2 separate regions of the Homo sapiens genome follow, and region 1 is linked to region 2. The links are contacts of gene promoters, found by promoter capture Hi-C in blood cells and fetal thymus (Javierre and others, 2016). All regions are on one chromosome and are shown on one strand. Each heading gives the region's core, a stretch centred on a gene start or on the middle of the fragment in contact. The rest is flanking DNA. Distances are from core to core; before and after follow the strand shown. Region 1 holds the start of KCTD12 (potassium channel tetramerization domain containing 12). Region 2 holds the start of DIS3 (DIS3 exosome endoribonuclease and 3''-5'' exoribonuclease).

Region 1 (5,137 bases), core at 1-2,500, 4.1 Mb after region 2:
AGGGGGTCTGGGGAGCTCACTCCCTGCAGAAGACGTACTCGGTGTAGCTGGTCCAGATCTTGTCCTCGCTCTGGTCGGTGCTGCTGGCAAAGGCGCAGGTGCCCGTGGAGCTGCACGCCACCATGTGGAAGCCCGACTCGGACAGCTTGTCGAAGGCCTGCTCCAGGAAGTTGAACTTGAGGTAATAGCGCGAGGTGTAGCGCTCCGGGGGACGGTCGGGGTCCCGGCTTTCGTTCAGGGTGTCCCCAAACACCTCCTTGGCCAGCGACGTCTTTCCGCAAACGGTGATGCGCGCCACTCGCCGGAACTTGGCGTCCGCCTGCGCGTCCCGCCCGATGGTGTAGGAGCCGCGGTAGCCGATGGTGATGTAGCCCGAGCGCCGGCTGCCGTCCAGCGACTGGGACGGCGTGAGCAGCGGGCCCGCCGCGCCCCCGGACGGACTGCGGCTAGCCAGCTCCAGCGTGGGCGACGGCGCCCCGGCAGAGGCGCCCTCCTGCTGTTCGGGCTCCGAGTAGCCAAGCGGCAGCAGCTCGTCACCCAGCGAGCCCTCCTTGTGCACCCCGCGCCGCGAGGGCGGCGGCCCCGGGCCGGGCTGCTGGGGCGCCCCGAGGCGGCGCACGAGCTCTGGCAGCTCGAAGTACTCGGCCTCGCGCTGCAGCCGGCTGCGCTCGGGGAAGTAGTCGGGCAGCACGAGCTGCAAGTCCCGCAGGTAATCCAGGATGTAGCGGAAGAGGAAGCCGTCCCGGTCCAGAAAGAAGCGGCCTTTGCTGTCCCGGGCCAGCTCCTGCGGCTGCTGCTGCGTGAACATGCGCCAGAGCAGCGAGTCGGGCACCGACACCACCGTGCAGCGCCGGGTCACGTACACCTGGCCCCCCACGTTCAGCTCCACGATGTCGGGGAAGAGCGGTGGCTCCGCGGAGGACGACGAGGAGCCACTGCCGCCCCCGCCGCCGCCCCCGTTGGGTAATCCACGTGTGCTGTCCGCCAGAGCCATGACAGAGAGGTGGCCGGGCCGGGACAGTGGCAGGAAGCCGCGCTGCACTCAGGAGCTGCAACCGCCTTCCCCGGAGCCCCGGAACCCGGACGCTCGCTCAGCCCTGCGCCCCGCCGCCGCCGCCGCCGCCACCGCCGCCACCGCCACCGCCGCCACCTCCTAGAGCCGCGCGGAGCCGAGCGGTGCGAGCGCGCCGCTGTGCGCCCCCTTGAGTTCCAGTGCGCTCCGCCCGCCTTGCCCGCGCGCTCCAGGCGAGTGCCGGGTCGCGGCCCGCGCGCTGCTTAAGTAGAGCCGCCTGCTCTGGTGCCGTGGCGCGCAGGAGGCGTGGGCGGCGGCGGAGCCTCGCTTACCGGGCGAGGGGAGGTGGGGAGCGGGGACTCGATTTGCATCTTAAACGCGGACGCCACGCGGGGCTGCTGGCTCCACCCCGGCTCGCGAGCGCTGGGGGCGCCCGGACTCCCACCCGCTCCCCACCCACCAGCCCCGCCCCGTGGTCCCGCCCAACTTTCTCCCTCTTCCGAAGAGGACCCGCCCGAGACTTGGCGGCTTCGGAAGACAGCTCCTTGGAGGGACAGTCACCGCGCCCCCTCCCCTCTCGCCCCAGCCCGCACCCAAGGACTCTGGAAGGAGGACGTGAACTTTCGGAAGCCTGTCGCCCCGGGAGTGGAAATGCGTGGCCGCCTCCGGCCCTCCCGCCTGCGGAACTGGGCGCTTCCAGCAGTGCAGCTGCGGCCTGCCATCGTTGGTTGTCGTGTCACTGAAAGTAGAGAGACGCGAAAAACCTGGAGAGACGAAAGAGCCGCCCCAGTCCGAGCGCAGCCAGATTTTGTTCAAGTTGCCTTGCAGCCAGCCTGGAAAATAAATAAATAAACCTAGAAACAAAAAGCAAACCTCAGTGTCCCGCAGTAGGATGCTTTACGATAGTTTATTTTCTGGCTGCAGAGACAAAATGAGATGAAGCTTCAAATCTGCTCTTAATTGCAATTCCCTCTTCCCGCAGGGCCTTCGAGGCACTTCACTTCGAAGTGAAGGGGTAAGACTCCGGAACGTTCGGTCTCCGGGTCCCATTCAGCCTTCGTTGAATCGCGCCCTTAGACTCACAACAGTTGCAGATCTAACGTAATTTTTAAAGCCACCTTTGGCGCCTGCATGTTTATCCTTCCAAAAGTCCAGGCGCCCCTTCTCTCCCGCATGCCTCGGTCACTCTTCGGCCCTGTCCAAGTTCCCGTCAGTCTCAGAAAGGGATATTTATATATCTGAAGGCCCTTGTCTGGATCCCATCTCTCAACTCCTGCTGCCTACACGTTTGCTTTTCCCCCTCGGACTGCAGCCCACAGAACCGCCCCCTCCCCCTGGAAGCTTTCCCTGGCTTCCCAGGTGGGTGGGGCCTCTGGATGGCTCCCTACACACTGTCTGCGCTGCTCCCAGCACGTTCTGAAATGTCATATTTATGAGTGATTATCTGATCACTGATTTGGGTATGAAAATAAGTAAGAGCTCCTGAATGCTGCAAAAAGAGAAGAGTGCAGAGGAGGGTGTCAAGAAATGATTGGGTCACTGAATGTTTCTTGTGTACCTGCTATTATTTGCAGGGCACCAGGGAGTGAGGAATGCAAAGGCGAATAATCTCCAAAGCGCTTTCAGTGTAGCCCAATAAGCAAAGGGTCAGGGGTCTGCGCAGTTATCACATCAGTTTGAAGTATAGACCACACATCAGGATAAATCAGGCAAGATCTTTGTTCTTGATAAAATTTATCCTTCTGTGTAACTACCCAGTGAGCTTCACAGTCTCCTCACAGATAAATGTCATTTTTATTTTGAAATGTTTATATCTGCTCAACAATTACCGCGCTCATGTCAGTGTGCTGAAATGAGATCAACCCCCAAACCAGTTATCTTAATTGCAAGTACAGATTTTGATACTGAATGTATTTCAACATTCTTTTTTTGTTGTTGTTCTGTTCTTTGGGATAAATAATAGATAACACAAAACTTCCAAGTCCCAGTGCAGGATTTCGAGGTGGTTGTGCTACTAGGCGTTATATTAGTGTCAGAGACCTGACAAAACCAGCCTCTTTTCTACAAATCCAAGAAAAGCCTTCTTTGTATCAGTTCTGCACATATTTTTGTATAATTACCATTGCTCATTGCATCAGCAAATCCTGCCAGCTCTGTGTTAAAAATCTTTCTAGACTATTAACGTATTTCACCATCTCCCTATCATCACCCTGGACCAAGCCACCATCATCTCTTGCCTGGATTATTGCACTGGTCTCCTAACTGCTTCTACTTCTGCTCCTACAGTCTTGTATCACCAGAACAAAAACAGGGACCCTGCTTATAATCCAAGGCTGGTATGTCACTCTGCTCAGAGCCTGCCAGTGGCTTCCTATCTCAGAAAGAGCAAAATCCAAAGTCCTCTCAGTGGCTTACAAGACTCTACATGTTTGGAGTTATCCCACCAGCACCTCTCTGACACATCTCCTGCCCTGCCCCCAGGAGCTGGCTGGCTTTAGCCACATAGCCCCTTTCTTGTTTTCTCAGGGCCTTTGCACATCCTTGTAAAAGTCTCATTTCTCCTCCCTCCCGTGTTCCTCACCTTGTTCAGGTCCCTCCCTTCTCACCTTCTTCAGGTCTGCCCAGCAAGACCTTTCCTTGATTCCACTTCTTAATGCAGCACAGCCTCACTGCAGCTTCCTCTTCCTTGCCTTATTTGTTGACTCTTTTCCTACATCAGAATATAAACTCCAAGACTTCAGCAGTTTTTGTCTGCTTGGTTCACTGCCACACCCCCACTGCCTAGAACAGAGCTGGTATATTACAGGCATTTGATAAATATCTGTTGCTCACGCAAGCATTCAACCACTATTTATTCAGGGCCTACTACTATATTCCAGGCTGCATGTTAAAAAATAATCACTGCCCACTAGGAGCTTATAGTCTTGCGAGGGAGACAAATAAATATAGTATAAAGATAAGTAAGCCTATTTCAGGTGGTGATAAATGCCACAAAGAAAATAAAATTATAAGATGTGATAGAGGGACTGAGTGTGGAATACTACTTTATACAGAGTGCCTGGGGAAGGCATCTCTGTGAATGTGACATTTGAGCTGAATAATAAGAAAGAGACAGCCATGGGAAGTTTTGGAGGAAGAGCATTCCAGGCACAGGGTCAAACAAGTTAAAGGGGCCTGAGTTATGAGTGAGCTCACATTGAAAGTTTATGTATTGTGTCATCTACTTGTATCCTGTGAATCTCCAAAGTACCCTTGAGATGATCAGTACAGAGTCAAATGTGAGTGATACCGTGTGCTTATTCACTACCTGCAGCCTACTATCATCATTCTCTACATCTTGACATAAGGTAGTCATCAACCACCAGCTAGTCTACTGCAGAAAAGCCATTGGTATTTCCTTATGGAAGCCAGGTAATGCATGAGAGATATAATAATGAATGAAACAGGTGATTTGAAACACAAGGAATGTTTTTCTAGTTAATTTTGTGTGTTCTGTTTCTTGCCTATTGGTTGGTATCACAGAATTCAAAAGGAAATACTACTGGGGAACTCTGATGCTGGGACTTGAGGGCCTGAGTGTTTATAAGAAGAGAGTCATAACTCTTTAGCATCTCCAGTATGTTAAATATGCTTGATTGCAAGGGATTGGGGAGGATTTGGAAACCCACTAGCCCTGTGTTTAGTCTCAAACCAGTTTCTAATGATGGTCATTGCTAATTGATGGTCATTGCTCCTTTTCAAGTAACTCTTTGTATTTTCCTGAATAAGATACAGTGTGCCTGCAAGTAACCTGTCCTTTGATCCTAAAGTGGAGGATACTGGAAACATCTCTGGACCTACATTCTCATCTCATTTGCATCTTCTCCCCCACCTACTGCCTTCTCTTCAAACCAGCTTCCCCTCCCACTCCCCACAGTAATCCTTCTTATCCAAAGTTTCCATTACCATGGTTTCAGTTACCCATGGTCAGCTGTGGTTTGAAAATATTACATGGAAATTCCAGAAATATAACTAATTCATAAATTCAAAATTGCACACCATTCAGAGTAGTGTGATGAAATCTCCCACTGTCCTGCTTCGTCTTGCCCTGGACATGAATATCCACACCTCTACACTCCCAACCCA
Region 2 (5,038 bases), core at 405-2,904:
AACTTGGGAGGTGGAGGTTGCAGTGAGCAGAGATCACACCACTGCACTCCAGCCTGGGTGACAGAGTGAGACTCCATCTCAAAAAAAAAAAAAAAAAAAAAAAAAGAATTCTATTCCTTAACCTAATCTTGCTCAATGTAATCAGCTGCAAAGTATTAAACTTTTAAAAAGACCATTAAGAATAAATCTACTTTCTATTTTTAAACAAAATAGAAACTTCACAAACTCATATATTTTATTACCCTCTGTTAGTTGTTCACATAATATGGTATTCCAGGAACTTAAGCAAATCTCATCTTCCAAGATTCTATGGTCCAACTCATGCTAAAACCAATTCAAAATGAAAACATTTTGGAAATTAAAGTACCTATTGTAGTCTAGGAGTCAGCAGACCTTGGTTTTAGGCTTGAGCCCATCAATGCCTGTGTGACCTTAGAGAGATCCACTTAGCATTATCTTCTGCACAGCCATGTAAGAATTAAATAAGGTATGAAATCTATCACTTATCTTCTGACAATGTCATAAATTACTCACAGGAACCCTCTCCCGAATTTTGCTAATCCTGTGGTTTTCTGATATTTAACGTAATATTCCTCCTACCTATGGTGCTCATTAGTGAAAGTATAGAAATGCTTCTCTTGGTTATTAGTCACATCTCGGATGCGTTTATATACGGGGGCACTGCGATTTCTCACTTCTTGAAGAACTGTTTGTAGCACAATTACATTCCTGATGGCAGGGTCCTCAAGAACATCAATCTTAAAGAAAGATAAAGTTAATTTTTCCTATATTCATTTGTAAATAGCTCTGTCAAACATAAAATCCTGTTTTATGTTGGGCATAAATACTTTATGTTTTAAAAACACTGAATAAGTTAAGCCAAGAAGCTATTTGGCTATAGAAAACGAGACAATAGTCACTAAACCCTTCAGATCTATTAAAAAAAGCACACTTAAACAGACCAATCACAAGACTTCGTAGAATTAAGGGTATTAATAAAGGAATACGTTGGCCCACATAGTTTTTTGTTCCTAGGCACTTACAAGCTGCCTGGGAGTCGCAGGCTGGAGGCCACAGAAGCCCAGGTCCCCGGCCTCCAGGCACTTACAATCTAAGGCAGAAGAGACACCAGGAGTTAGAAAAATAACGTGTCTGAACTACGACTCCAAGAACTAAATTTTTTAAAGCACAAGGAAAAGAACCTCGGCCTGGGGAACAGGAAGCTTCGGTCCCGAGGGGGTTTCCCTTTCGCTAGGTATGTGACACTGCCAAAGACCCGCCTCCCTGGGCCTCAGTTTCCCTGTCATACCCCCTTGTCCCCGTGGGGCCGCGCTGTCCGCGGTTCGCCCGCCCACGCACCTGGTGCAGTAACACATTAGTGTCGGGCAGCAAGTAGTGCGGTTGCGGGCAGACGCTGCTCGCCGGGTCCTGGGGCTGCGGCTCCAGGGCCGGCCCCTCGTGCGCCCCTCCACACGCTGCGCACCCGGGCGCACCGCAGCCGATGTCGTCTCGCAGGTAGTGCTCGCGCACGATCTTCATCACGCCGCCCGCCCGGGTCTTTTTTAAGAACGTCTTGGACTTGAGCATCTTGCCTCGCCGCGCAGAATCCTAACCCCAGCAGCGCTCTTCCAGCAAAAGGCGTCAATCTAGAATACGCCTAACCCCGGAGGTTCTTCCCTTTCCATTCCCGGATATTAGTAACACTTCTCGCGGGAAAATGCCGAGATAAACATTGGTTGGCTCTCTGACGGCCGCGGGGATTGGGCGAGAGTGGGGAGGGGCGGCAAAGCAAGGCGAGGAGCCATTTCCGCCCGTGGCCTAGGCGGGGCTTCCTTCTGGACGCCACCTCACAACGTGTGTTGCTTTCCGCTCCTCGGAACATCCGGGAGAGTTGACTTCCGGCGGCTTGTGGGAGTGCTGGTTCTGTCCTCCTTGCGGGTGCGGAGATGGTTGTCTTGGTTACGGGTCCTAACGGTCCCCTGCCTTGAAATCCCTTGTTGAGGGCCTGCAACCTTGTGCTTCCGACCGGAGACGCCTTTGGTCCCTCGGTGTCTGCACTGGCTGCTGGTCAAGGCTTCAGTGTGGAGTAATTGACACTTTCGAGGTAACTTGCGACTATCATCGCTTTCTTTCCCGCGTGGGGCAAGGAATCCCCCGAGCTGCCAAGTTTGGGGCTTAATTTTCACGCCGAGTGTATAGGCAGTCCCCGTCTCGGGCCCTTTGTAATCGAGGAGAGAATTTGTCTTTGAATTCACTTTTTCTTACCTATTTCCCTTCAAAAAGAAGGAGGGAGGCCGATCTTAGTATAGTTCTCGCTGTTTCCCCTCCACACACCTTTCCTTATCATTCAGTTTAGAAAAACTGAAATATTTAATAGCATAATTTGTTATATCATGAGGTATTAAAACAAGGTAGTTGCTAACATTCTTATGAGAGAGTTAGAAGTAAGTTCTATTTAGAATTTCTTGAATTTTTCTTATATCCTGTTGTTTTCATTCTGCTATCTATAAAAAATGTTTTTGTCCCCGTTTTCCCTATTTAAAACATCTTCAATGATGCCTCATTGCCTGTAGAATAAAATCCAACCCTATTTTGACATTTAAGGCCTTCCAGTCTTGATCGTTAAGGGCGTGTGTGTGTGTGTGTGTGTGTGTGTGTGTGTTTGTGTTTGTGTTGGGGGGGCGGTGAAAGGAGTAACTATTCCAAGACTTGGCTTTGTTTTTTTACTTCCACTTACGTATCATTAATAACTGCATGATTTCTCCTTTTTACCATGCCTGTCCAAATCTTTAAAGATTCTAAGTGCTACCTCTGTGTAACGTTTCCCTGACCAACTCAGACGTGATTTCTGTTATCTTTGAGCATGTGTTGGTTTTAGTGGTGCCATTCTTGATTATAATGGGCTTTTTTCTTCATCTTGTACATTTCTTTGTTTCCTCCAAGTAAGATTCCTCCCCGCAGGAACTGTTTTTTTAAGTTTCTCGAAGGCTGACTTCATATTAGGAATTAATGTGTTTGATTTGAGCATTAACTTAACTGCAATAATCTGTTCTAGATTTGGGATGCACTAAATTGCCTAATATTTATTTAAGGAATCCTTAGTCTCTCTTTAATACAGTCCATGATTTCTGTAGTTAATTTTATAGTACATTTGAATTAATGTTTTTTAACCTACAGAATATTAAAATCAAATTAGAGAAGAAAACTGATCCATAATAATAAAAATGTCTCGAAAAATTTCAAAGGAGTCAAAAAAAGTGAACATCTCTAGTTCTCTGGAATCTGAAGATATTAGTTTAGAAACAACAGTTCCTACGGATGATATTTCCTCATCAGAAGAGCGAGAGGGCAAAGTCAGAATCACCAGGCAGCTAATTGAACGAAAAGAACTACTTCATAATATTCAGTTACTAAAAATTGAGCTATCCCAGAAAACTATGATGATCGACAATTTGAAAGTGGATTATCTTACAAAGGTAAGATCAGGTTTAAATTTTGTGTTCTATATGCTTTATTGTCTTCAAACGGCAGGTAAATAAGAATTAAATACACACATTATCTGAACTTGAAATGATACATTTATATTTCTTGACAAGTACAGCCTTTAAATAATTTTGGTGTTCATAGAAGTAGAGAATAGAATGGTGGTTACCAAGGGCTGGCATGGTTAGGGGTGAAGGAGGGTTGGGGAGATGTTGGTCAAAGGATACATAATTACAGTTGAATAGGAGGAATACATTCAAGAGATCTATTGGACAGCATGGTGGCTATAGTTAATGACATTGTAATCTTGGAAAACATTGTGTTTTTGAAAAACACAGCAGATGTTAAGTGTTCTCATTACTAAAATAACTATGTGAGGTAAAACATTTTTTAATTAGCTAGAGTTAACCATTTCACAATGTACGTATACTTCAAAACATTATGTTGTACATGACATATACACACAGTTTTATCTGTCAGTTGGGATCACCTGAGGTCAGGAGTTTGAGACCAACCTGGCCAACATTGTGAAACCCCAGCTCTACTTAAAAAAAAAAAAAAAAAAAAATTAGCCAGCCATGATGGTGGGTGCCTGTAATCCCAGCTGCTCGGGAGGCTGAGGCAGGAGAATTGCTTGAACCCAGGAGGCAGAGTTTGCAGTGAGCCACAATCGTGCCACTGCACTCCAGCCTGGGCAACACAGCAAGACTCTCAAAAACTAGTAATAATAATAATAATAATAATTGGAGGCCAAGTGCGGTGGCTCACACCTGTAATTCCAGCACTTTGGATGCTGAGGCCAGTGGATTGCTCCAAGCTCAGGAGTTCGAGACTACCCTGAGCAACATGGTGAGACCACCCTTGCTACTAAAAAAATAAAATAGCCCCGCGTAGTGGTGCTGCGCCTGCAGGCCCAGCTACTTCCGAGGCTGAGGCGGGAGAATCACTTGAATCCGGGGGCAGACATTGCAGTGAGCTGAGATCGTACCACTGCACTCCAGCCTGGGTAACAGAGTGAGACCCTATCTCAAAAAAATAATAATAATAATTTAAGTATTGAAATATGGAGTGATTTAAACGTAGATATGGATAAATTACTTTTGTAGGCTCAATTTAAAAAATCTAACATATGAGGTATTTTGTTGTTTTTTGTTGTTGTTGTTGGAGACAGTCTTGCTCTGTCACCCAGGCTGGAGTTCAGTGGCACAATCTTGGCTCACTGCAACCTCCACCTCTTGGGTTCAAGCAATTCTCCTGCCTCAGTCTCCCACGTAGCTGGGATTACAAGTGCTCCCCACCATGCCCAGCTAGCTCTCTGGGATCACTTTTATAAGGGCACCAATCCCAACAGTGAGGGTTCTACCCTTATAACCTAATCACCCCAAAGGCCCCAACTTCCTGCTACTCACATTGGTGATTAGGTTTCAATATACAAATTTTGAGGGGAGAAAAAAAAATAAGCACACAAGACGTATTAGCCGTTGTTGTTTTCAACTAACATAGCATCCTTATCTGTTTCATCCCTTTCATTTTCTGTGCCTTTTATGGCCATCGG

The links. The method cuts DNA at HindIII sites, captures the fragments that hold promoters and counts their contacts. A CHiCAGO score of 5 or more calls a contact.
Region 1: the fragment with the promoter of KCTD12 here is called in contact with the fragment with the promoter of DIS3 in region 2 in 2 of 17 cell types (fetal thymus and total B cells); the score reaches 5.9 in fetal thymus.

What each region holds. Positions count from the first base shown.
Region 1 is chr13:76,885,155-76,890,291 of GRCh38, forward strand. It overlaps KCTD12 (potassium channel tetramerization domain containing 12), which reads right to left and starts at 1,251. Exons shown (of 1, transcript NM_138444.4): 1 at 1-1,251. The coding sequence starts at 994. The coding sequence ends at 17. RefSeq lists an enhancer at 266-765 and silencers at 379-648, 1,049-1,478. The HindIII fragment of the contact is 7,244 bases long and covers 1-1,952 here.
Region 2 is chr13:72,780,246-72,785,283 of GRCh38, forward strand. DIS3 (DIS3 exosome endoribonuclease and 3''-5'' exoribonuclease) reads right to left here and starts at 1,655. Exons shown (of 21, transcript NM_014953.5): 1 at 1,360-1,655; 2 at 601-758. The coding sequence starts at 1,587. It overlaps PIBF1 (progesterone immunomodulatory binding factor 1), which reads left to right and starts at 1,888. Exons shown (of 18, transcript NM_006346.4): 1 at 1,888-2,104; 2 at 3,178-3,476. The coding sequence starts at 3,225. RefSeq lists enhancers at 847-1,761, 1,679-1,788 and a silencer at 1,349-1,398. The HindIII fragment of the contact is 4,441 bases long and covers 1,222-5,038 here.